Linked DNA regions of Homo sapiens: all the other regions are linked to region 2. Evidence: promoter capture Hi-C in 16 types of primary human blood cells and fetal thymus (Javierre and others, 2016). All regions are on one chromosome and are shown on one strand. Each heading gives the region's core, a stretch centred on a gene start or on the middle of the fragment in contact. The rest is flanking DNA. Distances are from core to core; before and after follow the strand shown. Region 1 overlaps HDAC6 (histone deacetylase 6). Region 2 holds the start of PRAF2 (PRA1 domain family member 2). Region 3 holds the start of WAS (WASP actin nucleation promoting factor). Region 4 has its middle 2.5 kb from the start of WDR13.

Region 1 (2,700 bases), core at 172-2,671, 260 kb after region 2:
AGGGGGCACCCAAGATAAGCTGAAGTTTCCTTTCTGGAGAAATCCAGTACAGATCCAGGTCAATGCACACAAAATCCCTTCTGAAGAGCCAACTCACTGAATCACCAATACAACAAAGTTACTTGTTTCTTTTAACTACTTAGTTTTAGATCATCTGCTTTCCTTGTCTTCACAACAGTATTTTAAGGATTATCCAGTTTGTCTCCCTGCTGCTGGAGTTCAGAGACTGAGAGATGGGGAGCTGGGAGATCCAAGGGCATGGACATGTTCTTTTTGTTTGTTTGTTTACACACGTTTGTTAATAAGGAAGAATGCACTGAATATATTCACAGTGTTTCACATCTGTGTGTGTAATCAATAGTGTACCCATGAAAGAACACACAGCTATAGCCTCCTATGCATTTATTCAAACAAAAAGAATGATTAATGATATTAAAGAATTCTTTGAATGACAGACCCTTGGCAGATTAAAAAAATAATTATTGTTAATTTTCAGGTATTGATACTAAGGTAATGCTTTTCTAAAAAAGTGTACTTATGTTTTAGAGATGCATTCTGAAATATTTACAGGAGAAATTATATGGTATCTGGGATTAGCTTTGAAGGAAAACAGGAAGAGGGCAGTGGGTACAGGTATAGATGAAATGAGATCGGCCAATGAGTTGATAAATGTTGAAGCATTAAATTCCAGAAGCCAGAAATGAACAAAATAAAGAACGTCGGAGGAAAACATTAATAAAGATAAAACCAGAAAAATTAATGAAGTATTAAAAACCCACCATAATAAAACAGTAGAGATGACCAACAAAGCCCAAAGCTACACTGGAAAAGATAAGTACAACAGATACACTTTGGAAAGGCTGAGGGAAAAAAGAGATGTTACCCCAAAGAAGAGGCCTCCTTTGTTCTGACATCTGGCAGGATCCCATCTAATGCCCGGGTCCTTGCCCACACTCGCTAAAGTTGCAACCTGTCAGTGGACATTCCCTGTCCCCATTCTGGGGAAATGCCTTTCAGGAAAACAGACCTACAAACACTGCAGCAGAGTAGTCCTCTGACAGCCCCCTACAATGGGCCTTCATTCTTGGGTATAAATAGCCAAATAAGGATTGCTAGACATTTGAGGAAAACCATCAGCATAAAAGAGAAGGACCAAGAAAAAAATAATTCAACCAGCCTCAGAATAAAGAGACATAACTCAGACAACAGAAGAAACTTAAGGCACTTCCTTTTTTGAGACAGGGTCTCCCTCTATCGCCCAGGCTGGAGTGCAGTGGCATGATCTTGTCTCACTGCAACCTCCGCCTCCTGGGTTCAAGCGATTCTCCTGCCTCAGCCTCCTGAGTAGCTGGGATTACAGGTGCGCACCATCACGTCTGGGTAATTTTTGTATTTTTAGTAGAGATGGGGTTTCACCATGTTGGCCAGACTGGTCTCGAACTCCTGGCCTCAAGTGATCCACTCACCTCGGCCTCCCAAAGTGCTGGGATTACAGGCATGAGCCACCGCACCCAGCCGGCACTTCTAATCCATACTCTATAAAAACAAGATCAGGTATGAGAGGACATAGAAACAGAGAGGAAGAAAGAGCTTTTGGAGTTTAACAGGATATCTAAATACATAATTCAACAGAAGGGCTTGAAGATAAAGTTGACAAAATCTCCCAGGTCACAGCAAAAGAAAAAAGAGACAGAAAACATAAGATAAAAAATAAGAAGCCTGGGCAACATGGTGAGACCCCATCTCTACAAAAGATTAAAAAATTAGCTGGGTATGCTGGTGTGCACCTGTGGTCCCAGCTACTCAGGAGGCTGAGGCATGAGGATTGCTTGAGCCCGGGAGGTCGAGGCTGCAGTGAGTCGTATTTGTGCCACTGTACTCCAGTCTGGGCAACAGAGCAAGACCTTGTCTCAAAAAAAATAAATAAATAAATAAATAAATAAATAATAAAAAAGAGAGAGACATAGAGGATCAACCCAGGAAGTCTAACATCTGACTAACAGAAGTCCTAGAAAGAGAACAGAGAAAACAAAGAAGAAATTATCAAAGATCTAATAGAAAATAATTTCCAAGAGTTTAAGAAAAGCATGAATCTTCAGATGTAAAATGTCTACCTACTATTAAACAGAGTGAAAAGGCCAGGGTAAAAGTTTAGAACATCAAGGCTAGGTACAGTGGCTCATGCCTGTAATCTCAGTGCTTTGAGAGGCTGCAGTGGGAGGACACTTGAGGTCAGGAGTTCGAGACCAGTCTGGGCAATATAGTGAGACCCTGTCTCTACAAATAATTTAAAAAATTAGCTGGGTGTGGTGGCACATGCCTGCAGTCCTAGCTACTTGGGAGGCTGAGGCAGGAGGATTGCTTGAGCCCAGGAGTTTGAGGTTACAGTGGGCTATGATCATGCTACTATACTCCAGCCTGGGTGACAGAGTGATACCCTGTCTAATAATTTAAAAAAAAAAAAAAAAGAACACCAAGATAACCTTGCAGAGAGGAAAGTAGATTACTTGGAAAGGAATGAAAAGCAGACACCTGTCAGGAACACTGAATGCTGCAAAATAATAAAGCAATGTCTAGAGAACAACCAACCTAAATTGGATTCTTCAGATCTTGGATAAGTGGATTCTCTGTAGTCAGCTAGGAAGAAGGCTAGATAAAACTACTACAGGTTGAGCATCCCTAATCTAGAAATCTGAAATC
Region 2 (2,700 bases), core at 1-2,500:
GATTGGGCAGTACGTGGACTCTCAGTGGAGCCTGGCGAGCTTCACTGTGCCTGCTGAGTCAGCTTGCATCTGCGCCTTCGGTCGCAATACTTCCAAGAACGTCAACTCTGTCATTGGTGAGTGGGAACAGCCCCTTGGTTGGGGGTACTGCATGGGGCAAAGGCCTGCAGGTTGGACCTGAAAGGATTTTAGGGCCATGTGAGGCTCAGCTTCATCATCAGTAAGGGGGACAGCACTGGGCAAAGGCCTGGAGGCAGACCCTAGGTCCTGAGATGCCTGAGAGGACTGGAGCCTGTGGCTGTGGCAGCCTCTGACCTTTTACCACCCCCCCTCCCCCAGCCATCTGCGTAGATGGGACCTTCCACAAATATGTCTTCACTCCTGATGGAAACTGCAACAGAGAGGCTTTCGACGTGTACCTTGACATCTGTGATGATGATGACTTTTAAGGACCCTGGGGGCTGTGCTAGGGACCTGCAGTGGCAGAACTGCAGAGCTGAGCCTTGGCAGTGGGGCGTGCTTGGAAGCCACCAGCCAGCAAGCATTAATGGGGCTGGTGCCCACTTTCCACTCAGCAGAGCTATGTCTAAATAAAGAGCTCACTTCCCCCCAGCACTTCTTGATGACTGTGTGCCCCAAGGGCCAGGCCAGAGACCCAGGAAGGCAGCGACCCCTTGGGATCCCTAACCTGGAGGAAATTGCCAGGGACCCAGAGGGAGTGCCCTAATCCAACCTGGGGATTTTTTAAAAGCTTCCTAGGAAGAGATGATCTCCGATGTGATGAATACGAATAAAAGGCCCTTAATGGCATTTACGGCTTGACCTCAGGGGCGGGGCATGGAGTTTCCTGGAGAAATGTGACCCTCTTGGGCGCTGACAGGAAGGAGGTGGAATCCAACTCGGATCCTTGTGACAGTCCCTCCTTTCTTATCTGTCTGGCTACTTTGTGCTTGAGCCGCTGGCACCGCCCGGAGCAGCCCCTGCGGCGCCCCGCGCGGGGGTGGATGGCAGTTTTAAGGGTTGGGAGCATCTCGCTTCGTGGCAAAGGCTTGATTTCCCGGCAGCCTTTGCTGCTTTCCTGAGCGGCGTGTTAGTTGCTTTTCCGGTCACGTGCATCGCCGCCCCTGCGCAATCCACCTAGGAGGTTAGGAAAAAGCTGCCCAGCCCAGACTCCATTTCCCGGTGTGCCCCGCGGTGGCGAGGGGCGTAACGGTTGTTGTAGTCCGGCCCCCTCCTGGCTGGTCCAGCCACATTAACCGGCAGGATGTCGGAGGTGCGGCTGCCACCGCTACGCGCCCTGGACGACTTTGTTCTGGGGTCGGCGCGTCTGGCGGCTCCGGATCCATGCGACCCGCAGCGATGGTGCCACCGCGTCATCAACAACCTCCTCTACTACCAAACCAACTACCTTCTCTGCTTCGGCATCGGCCTCGCTCTCGCCGGGTGAGGGAGGGAGGCGCCGGTTGGCCAGGGACGTCTGCAGAGCGTGGGGGTAGACCCACAGGTCTTTGAGGACCAGGACGGGGAACCTGAGGGGGGTGCAAGGCCGGGAAGGGCGAAGTCAGTAGAGATGGACGGCCTGAGGGGCTTGGAAGGGGGGCCTTGAAGGAGGTGGAGCCTAGTTATAAGGAGGGCCTCAGGGAGATGGAGCCTGGCTGATGAGGAGGGCCTGCGGGGGATGGGGGTCTGCAAGGAAGATATGGGGAGGATGGAGACAAGTGTGGGACTGAAGGGGAAAGTGGGCTGGAAGGTGAACCGGAAAAAAAGGAGGGCCCGAAAGGGGGACATGAGAGTACTTGAGGGGCGTAGGGGGGGTGTGATGTGAATGATGGGGCCAGATTGAGGCCGACCCTGGAGTACTTAGGGCAGAGACCGGGAAATAGACGGTAAAGTTGGAGGGTTTGGAAGATGTATTTATTGGGGATCCGGTCTTGGAGGGGAGCCTGGCTATGATTGGAAGGCGCCAGGGGCAGGTACCTGTTGGGGAACTTGGGCCCAGGAGGAGGATCCATGGTTGGAAAGCCTGAGACCAGAGAGGGATGGAGAATCTGGAGGAAGGACTTGAGCAGTGCTGAAAGTTCAGAGTGGGGCTGACGACCTGGAAGAGGTCCTAGCAATGATGGAGGGAGGAATCTATAGGGAAATGGGAGCCTGGAGGGCGGTTCTATAAGGACCCTAGGCCTGGGGAGAGGGGAACGTGTGAAGACAGAAGGCCTGAAAGAGGGATTTGCAGGGGCTGGTGTTAAAGGGGGAGCTTGCGGGCAGGCTGATGAGGGGCCCTACGGGGGCAGAGTCGGAAGGAAAGTCCAGGGAAGTGTTGGGAGCCCGGGGGTGTGGGGAGTGTCTAGCAGGATGGGAGGGCCTGAAGCGGGGACCTGAGGAAGACAGGACAGTGGAATTGACAAGGAGGAAAGGAGGGGTCTACAAGGGTGAGTCGGGAGCCCTGGCAGATGGGCCTGCTGGAGATAGGGCTGGTGGGAGGATGTGCCAGGCTGGAGTGTCCGGAGACGGGAGACCCTGGCTCTTGGGGCCCAGGGTGGGTGGTGGTCCGGAGGCCGTCTCTCCGCCCGGCCGGCTAGCTTGGTTCCCTTGTACCCGCAGGTACGTGCGGCCACTTCATACGCTCCTGAGCGCGCTGGTAGTGGCGGTGGCCCTCGGCGTGCTGGTGTGGGCAGCTGAGACCCGCGCAGCTGTGCGCCG
Region 3 (2,700 bases), core at 113-2,612, 390 kb after region 2:
AGTTCAGACACATAGACTTGGGAGTTTCGCGGGGAGTCCAGCTAAAGTAAGTGCAATTTGGGGTTTGTGGAGAGAGTTATGGTTTAGGAGTTTGGTGGATATTTGATAGCCTTGGGATCTGGAAGTTATGCTGGGTCCATCTTTATGGGTTTAAAAGGATGAATTTGGGGCTTAAACCTAGAAAGTTCAGGTCAGGGGATTGTGGAAAAGACTTTTTGCTTAAGAACTACCTCGGTATTTGAGTGTTCAGGAATTTTAATATGGGAACTCTGGGGTCTGTGCTGTGGATTTAGAAGGACAGATTTGGAGTTCAAGGATCAATGGAATATTCAACTTTGGGGTTTGTTGAACAGATTTATGACTTAGGAGCTTGGCAAACATCTGGGGTTCAGGAGTTTTGATGAGAGATTCCTGGGATGCAAAATGTTGAGTTTAGAATAGATTTGAGGTTCAGGTACAAATACAGTGCTCATTTATTGGAATTTGTGGAAAAGATTAGGCTTAGGCAGCAGACTAATACTGGGGGCTTTAGAGATCTTGATACGGAGACTGGGGCCAGTCATTGCAGACTTAGAAAGGCAAGTCAGAGTTTGCCATCTGGATGAGTCTTTGGTTCTGGGGCTCAGGGATTCACTGATCAGGTCTGAGGTCTTGAAGCTATGGACACATATGGACACAGATCTGGGTTTGCGGGTTGAGAACTGGCTTGCAAGTCCAGTCGGGGGTGGGGGGGTCACCTGAAGGCCGTAAAGGCGGATGAAGTAGGACTTCTGGGGGTTATCCTTCACGAAGCACACAGCCCCACAATGCTCCTTGGTCCAGTGCTCAGCTCCAGGGGGCAGCGCCAGGTACAGCTGAACAACTGCAGTGGCCAGCGTCTGGGAGAGGAAAGCAGGGGTCAGTGGAGTCTGGTCAGGGGTAGCCACAAGGTCTTGGAGCCAGACCTGGTCCTTCCTGCCTCATGACAGTCATGGGCCCAAAGGAAGAGCTGCAGCCAGAGGGAAGGCAAGTAGACATTGAGATCTTCCTGGGAAGGGTGGATTATGACGGGAAATTCTAGGAGAGGAGATGATGGAGAGGGAAAGGAGGAGCGGGAGGAGGGGAAGAGAGAGAAGGAGGAGAGGAAGAGGAAGAAACGGTGGGGACGGGGCGGGGGCAGGAGATCCCCAGCTCACCAAGCATTTTCGTCCAAGCATCTCAAAGAGTCGCTGGTTCTCGTGGTCCTGGAGGAGGGTGGAGGGTATGTTCTGCTGAACCGCTGGTGCTCCTCGGCCCCCGGGCCTTCCTCCCATTGGGCCCCCACTCATGGTGCTTTCTGCCCTTGTCTTCTCTGGCGAGGCTCTGGGTGCAGGGTAAGAAGAGGAACTTCCGCAATGAGCAGCAAGGGAACAGGAAATGCAAAAAACCACAAGGGACAAGGGAAACAAGTCCTCCAGGGGCCCCTTGGTGGGCCTGGCCTCCTCGTTAGGCTGAGCTTGGGCCCTCCGCCATCAGATTGGAACCCTCCTCCACTTGACTGCTTAGACCCACCTTTTGGATCAGCTTGGGTCCTCCTCCCCCTTTCTTACTCTCTGGGGCCCATCTCCTTCTGACTGGCTCAGACCCTCCTCCCTCTGGCTGGCAGCGAGAGCTTAGCACATCTGTGTGCAGGGCTCCCTGTGGCAAGGAGTAGTCATGGGCCTGGGTGGCCTCCTTTCTAAAGCACCTAGGTAGCCTGAGGCTGAGGCCCGAGGTCCCTAGTCCGGAAGGGTTACTACAGTAAAACTTTTCCTTTTGGCTGGGGACAATAGCTCACACCTGTAATCCCAGCACTTTGGGAGGCCGAGACGAGTGGATCACTTGAGGTCAGGAGTTCAAGACGAGCCTGGGCAACATGGCAAAACCCCATTTCCACTAAAAAATACAAAAATTAGCCAGGCATGGTGGCACACACCTGTAGTCCTAGCTGCTCAGGAGGCTGAGGCAGGAGAATCGCTTGAACCCAGGAGGCGGAGGTTGCAGTGAGCTGAGACTGCACCACTGCACTCCAGCCTGGATGATGACAGAGCAAGACCCTTGTCTCAAAAACAGCAACAACAACAACACAACAAAAACCCTTTTCCTTTTAATTACAGAGCGAGCCCCTGTGATCCACGCCTATCGTGAGTGCTTAGACACTGCCAATGACGCATATGCCTCTGGTCCACTTCCCCATCCCTTACCCTTGCCTCCCCGCAGCTCCCAAATTACTTTCTGCTTGTCATACTTTTTTTTTTCTTTTTTTTTTTGAGATGGAGTCTCACTCTGTCGCCAGGCTGGAGTGCGGTGGCACGATCTCGGCTCACTGCAACCTTTGCCTCCCGGGTTCAAGTGACTCTCCTGCCTCAGCCTCCCAAGTAGCTGGGACTACAGGCACACGCCACCACGCCCAGCTAATTTTTTTGTATTTTTAGTAGAGACAGGGTTTCACCATGTTGGCCAGGATGGTCTCGATTTCTCGACCTCGTGATCCACCTGCCTCGGCCTCCCAAAGTATTAGAATTACAGGCGTGAGCCACCGTGCCCAGCCCATCCCTTTTTTAAAGAAAGGAACTTTATATCATATATGAATGCCTGAACAACATCTTGTTTAGTTTTCATTGCACTTGAAGTTTGTAAAAGCACATAATCTTCAAAGGCTTGCTTTCTCCCCACTGGACATCCTAGTTTTATCTTAACACT
Region 4 (2,700 bases), core at 168-2,667, 480 kb after region 2:
ATCTGAATCATCTCTATTTCAACTTCCAGCAGGAAGCTGCTTTCAAACTGTTCATCTTAACGTTATCAGGGTAAACTTCCTGTTGGATCTTAACATCAACTGACATAAAATTCAAAGCTGTTATTTTCCACATTATTTTTATAACAAATACAATCAATTCAACAATGTTTTAAAGTCACCGAAAGATCACACTGTATTGTGTTGACTCAGCATCTCCCTTGTCCCTGTAACAAGCTTATCAGTGTCTTTTCATATTAAATACTCTTTTGTAACATGATTGATAAAGAGTAAACTCTATTTCACTGCACAAACATGTAACCTTAACAAGAACAACTAATATTTATGAGACAATGTGCTGGGTACTGTTCAAGGTATTTTATACATATATTAATCTATTTAATCTTTTTTTTTTTTTTGAGATGGGGTTTCACTCTGTCACCCAGGCTGGAGTGCAGTGACACGATCTTGGCTCACTGCAATCTCTGCCACCTGGGCTCAAGCAGTCCTCCTACCTCAGCCTCCCGGGAGCTGGGACCACAGACATTTGCCACCACGCCCGGATAATTTTTCTATTTTTGGTAGAGACGGGGTTTCACCATGTTGGCCAGGCTGGTCTCAAACTCCTGAGCTCAAGTGATTCGCCCGCCTCGGCCTCCCTAAGTGCTAGGATTACAGGCGTGAGCCACTGTACCCAGTCAATTTAATCATAATAACTGAAGGTTGTGGGTCCTGTTACTATCCCCATTTTACAGATGAGGATATCTGAAGCCCAGGGAATTCAAGGGTGACATTTTATTGAACTGGTTCCCTTACGTTTTTTTTTTTTTTTTTTTTTTTAAGACATGGTGTCAACTGGGCGTAGTGGCTTATGTCTGTAATCCCAGCACTTTGGAAGGCTGAGGCGGGAGGATCACTTGAGTCCAGGAAGTTGAGACCAGCCTGGGGAACAAAGTGAGACCCCATCTCTACCAAAAATTAGGCATGGTGGTACATCCCTGTAGTCCCAGCTACTCGGGAGGCTGAGGCAGAAGAATTGCTTGAGCCTGGGAGGTTAAGGCTGCAGTGAGCTGTGATCATGCCACTACACTCCAACCTGGGCAACAGAGCGAGACCCTGTCTCTTAAAAAAAAAAAAAGAGGTCGGATGTGGTGGCTCACACCTGTAATCCCAGCACTTTGGGAGGCTGAGGCGGGCAGATCACCTGAGGTTAGGAATTCGAGACCAGCCTGGGCAACATGGTGAAACTCTGTCTCTACTAAAAATACAAAAAATTAGCCGGGCATGGTGGCAGGAGCCTGTAATCCCAGCTACTTGGGAGACTGAGGCAAGGACAATCACTTGAACCCTGGAGGCGGAGGTTGCAGTGAGCTGAGATCGTGCCATTGCACTCCAGCCTGGGCAACAAGAGCGAAACTCCATCTCAAACATAAATTAATTAAAAAAGAGAGAGCGACATGGGGTCGGCTGGGCATGGTGGCTCGTACCTGTAATCCCAATACTTTGGGAGGCCAAGGCAAGAAGATCACTTGAGTCTAGGAGTTTGAGACCAGCCTGGGCAACACAGTGAGACTACATCTCTACAAAAATAAAATTAGCTGGGTGTGGTGGTGTGTGCTCATAGTCCCAGCTACTCAGGAGGGTGAGGTGGGAGGATTGCTTGAGCCTGGGAGGTCAAGGCTGCAGTGAGCCATGCCACTGCACTCTGGCTTGGATGTTAGAGTAAGACCCTGTTTTTTTTTTTTGTTTTTTTTTTTTGTTTTTTTTAAAAAGAGAGAGATATGGGGGTATCTTGATATGTTGCCCAGGCTGGTCTCGAACTCGTGGCCTTGAGGCATCCTTCCACCTCAGCCTCCCAAGGAGCTGAGATTTACAGGCATGAGCCACTGCACCCAGCCCTGAACTGGTCCCCTATTTGTGACTGGCATTGGGTTTATTTCCATGTTCTTTTTTCACCATAAAGAGTGTTGTGATAAATACCTTTCCCATTCACTTCCACCTTCTCTCAACAGAGCCCTGCCCCTTCATCCCACCACTCTGCTTCCAAAGAAATATGATGGAATGAAATAACAGAAGAGTCAGGAATTCGAGTCAGGGATACCTGGGAAATTCTGTTTCACCATTGGAATGAATTCTTTTATTGTTTTTCAATATTAACATATTAAATTTATAAAAATTATTTTTAAAACCTCTTCCTATAAGGCTATAAGATACTAGACAAAACAAGCTGATGAAAGGTTTGTTGGCTGGGCACTGTGGCTCACGCCTGTAATCCCACCACTTTGGGAGGCTGAGGAGGGTGGGTCACTTGAGGCCAGGAGTTAGAGACCAGCCTCGCCAACATGGGCACCTCTGCCTCCCAGCTCAAGCGATTCTCGTGCCTTAGCCTCCCAAGTAGCTGGGACTACAATCGTGCACTACCATGCCAGGCTAATTTTTGTGTTTTTAGTAGAGATGGGTTTCACCATATTGGCCAGGCTGGTCTCGAACTCCTGACCTCACGTGATTTGCCTGCCTTGGCCTCCCGAAGTGCTGGATTACAGGCATGAGCCACTCAGCTGGTTTTTCTTGATTAAACATTCCTCTGCTTGTTACAAGCTTTCGGTTAGTTTTCAAAGTTTGAGACCTGCCTGACAGCATGGTGAGACTCTATCTTTACAAAATAAAAAAAAATAACCAGGCATGATGGTGTACACCTGTAGT

What was found. The method cuts DNA at HindIII sites, captures the fragments that hold promoters and counts their contacts. A CHiCAGO score of 5 or more calls a contact.
Region 1: a fragment that was not itself captured here is called in contact with the fragment with the promoter of PRAF2 in region 2 in 1 of 17 cell types (non-activated CD4 T cells); the score reaches 5.2 in non-activated CD4 T cells.
Region 3: the fragment with the promoter of WAS here is called in contact with the fragment with the promoter of PRAF2 in region 2 in 3 of 17 cell types (total B cells, M1 macrophages and total CD4 T cells); the score reaches 7.2 in total B cells.
Region 4: a fragment that was not itself captured here is called in contact with the fragment with the promoter of PRAF2 in region 2 in 2 of 17 cell types (non-activated CD4 T cells and total CD8 T cells); the score reaches 5.5 in non-activated CD4 T cells.

Annotation. Positions count from the first base shown.
Region 1 is chrX:48,809,839-48,812,538 of GRCh38, reverse strand. The region is part of intron 10 of HDAC6 (histone deacetylase 6); the gene reads right to left. Among named protein-coding and RNA genes, the nearest start is that of HDAC6, 9.1 kb to the right of the region's middle. The HindIII fragment of the contact is 7,978 bases long and covers 1-2,700 here.
Region 2 is chrX:49,072,552-49,075,251 of GRCh38, reverse strand. PRAF2 (PRA1 domain family member 2) reads left to right here and starts at 1,250. Exons shown (of 3, transcript NM_007213.3): 1 at 1,250-1,443; 2 at 2,602-2,700. The coding sequence starts at 1,265. WDR45 (WD repeat domain 45) reads left to right here. Exons shown (of 11, transcript NM_001029896.2): 10 at 1-116; 11 at 340-810. The coding sequence ends at 449. RefSeq lists a silencer at 968-1,067. The HindIII fragment of the contact is 3,027 bases long and covers 754-2,700 here.
Region 3 is chrX:48,682,461-48,685,160 of GRCh38, reverse strand. WAS (WASP actin nucleation promoting factor) reads right to left here and starts at 1,362. Exons shown (of 12, transcript NM_000377.3): 1 at 1,176-1,362; 2 at 738-878. The coding sequence starts at 1,307. The HindIII fragment of the contact is 18,512 bases long and covers 1-2,700 here.
Region 4 is chrX:48,593,631-48,596,330 of GRCh38, reverse strand. No RefSeq gene overlaps it. Among named protein-coding and RNA genes, the nearest start is that of WDR13, 2.5 kb to the left of the region's middle. The HindIII fragment of the contact is 2,361 bases long and covers 237-2,597 here.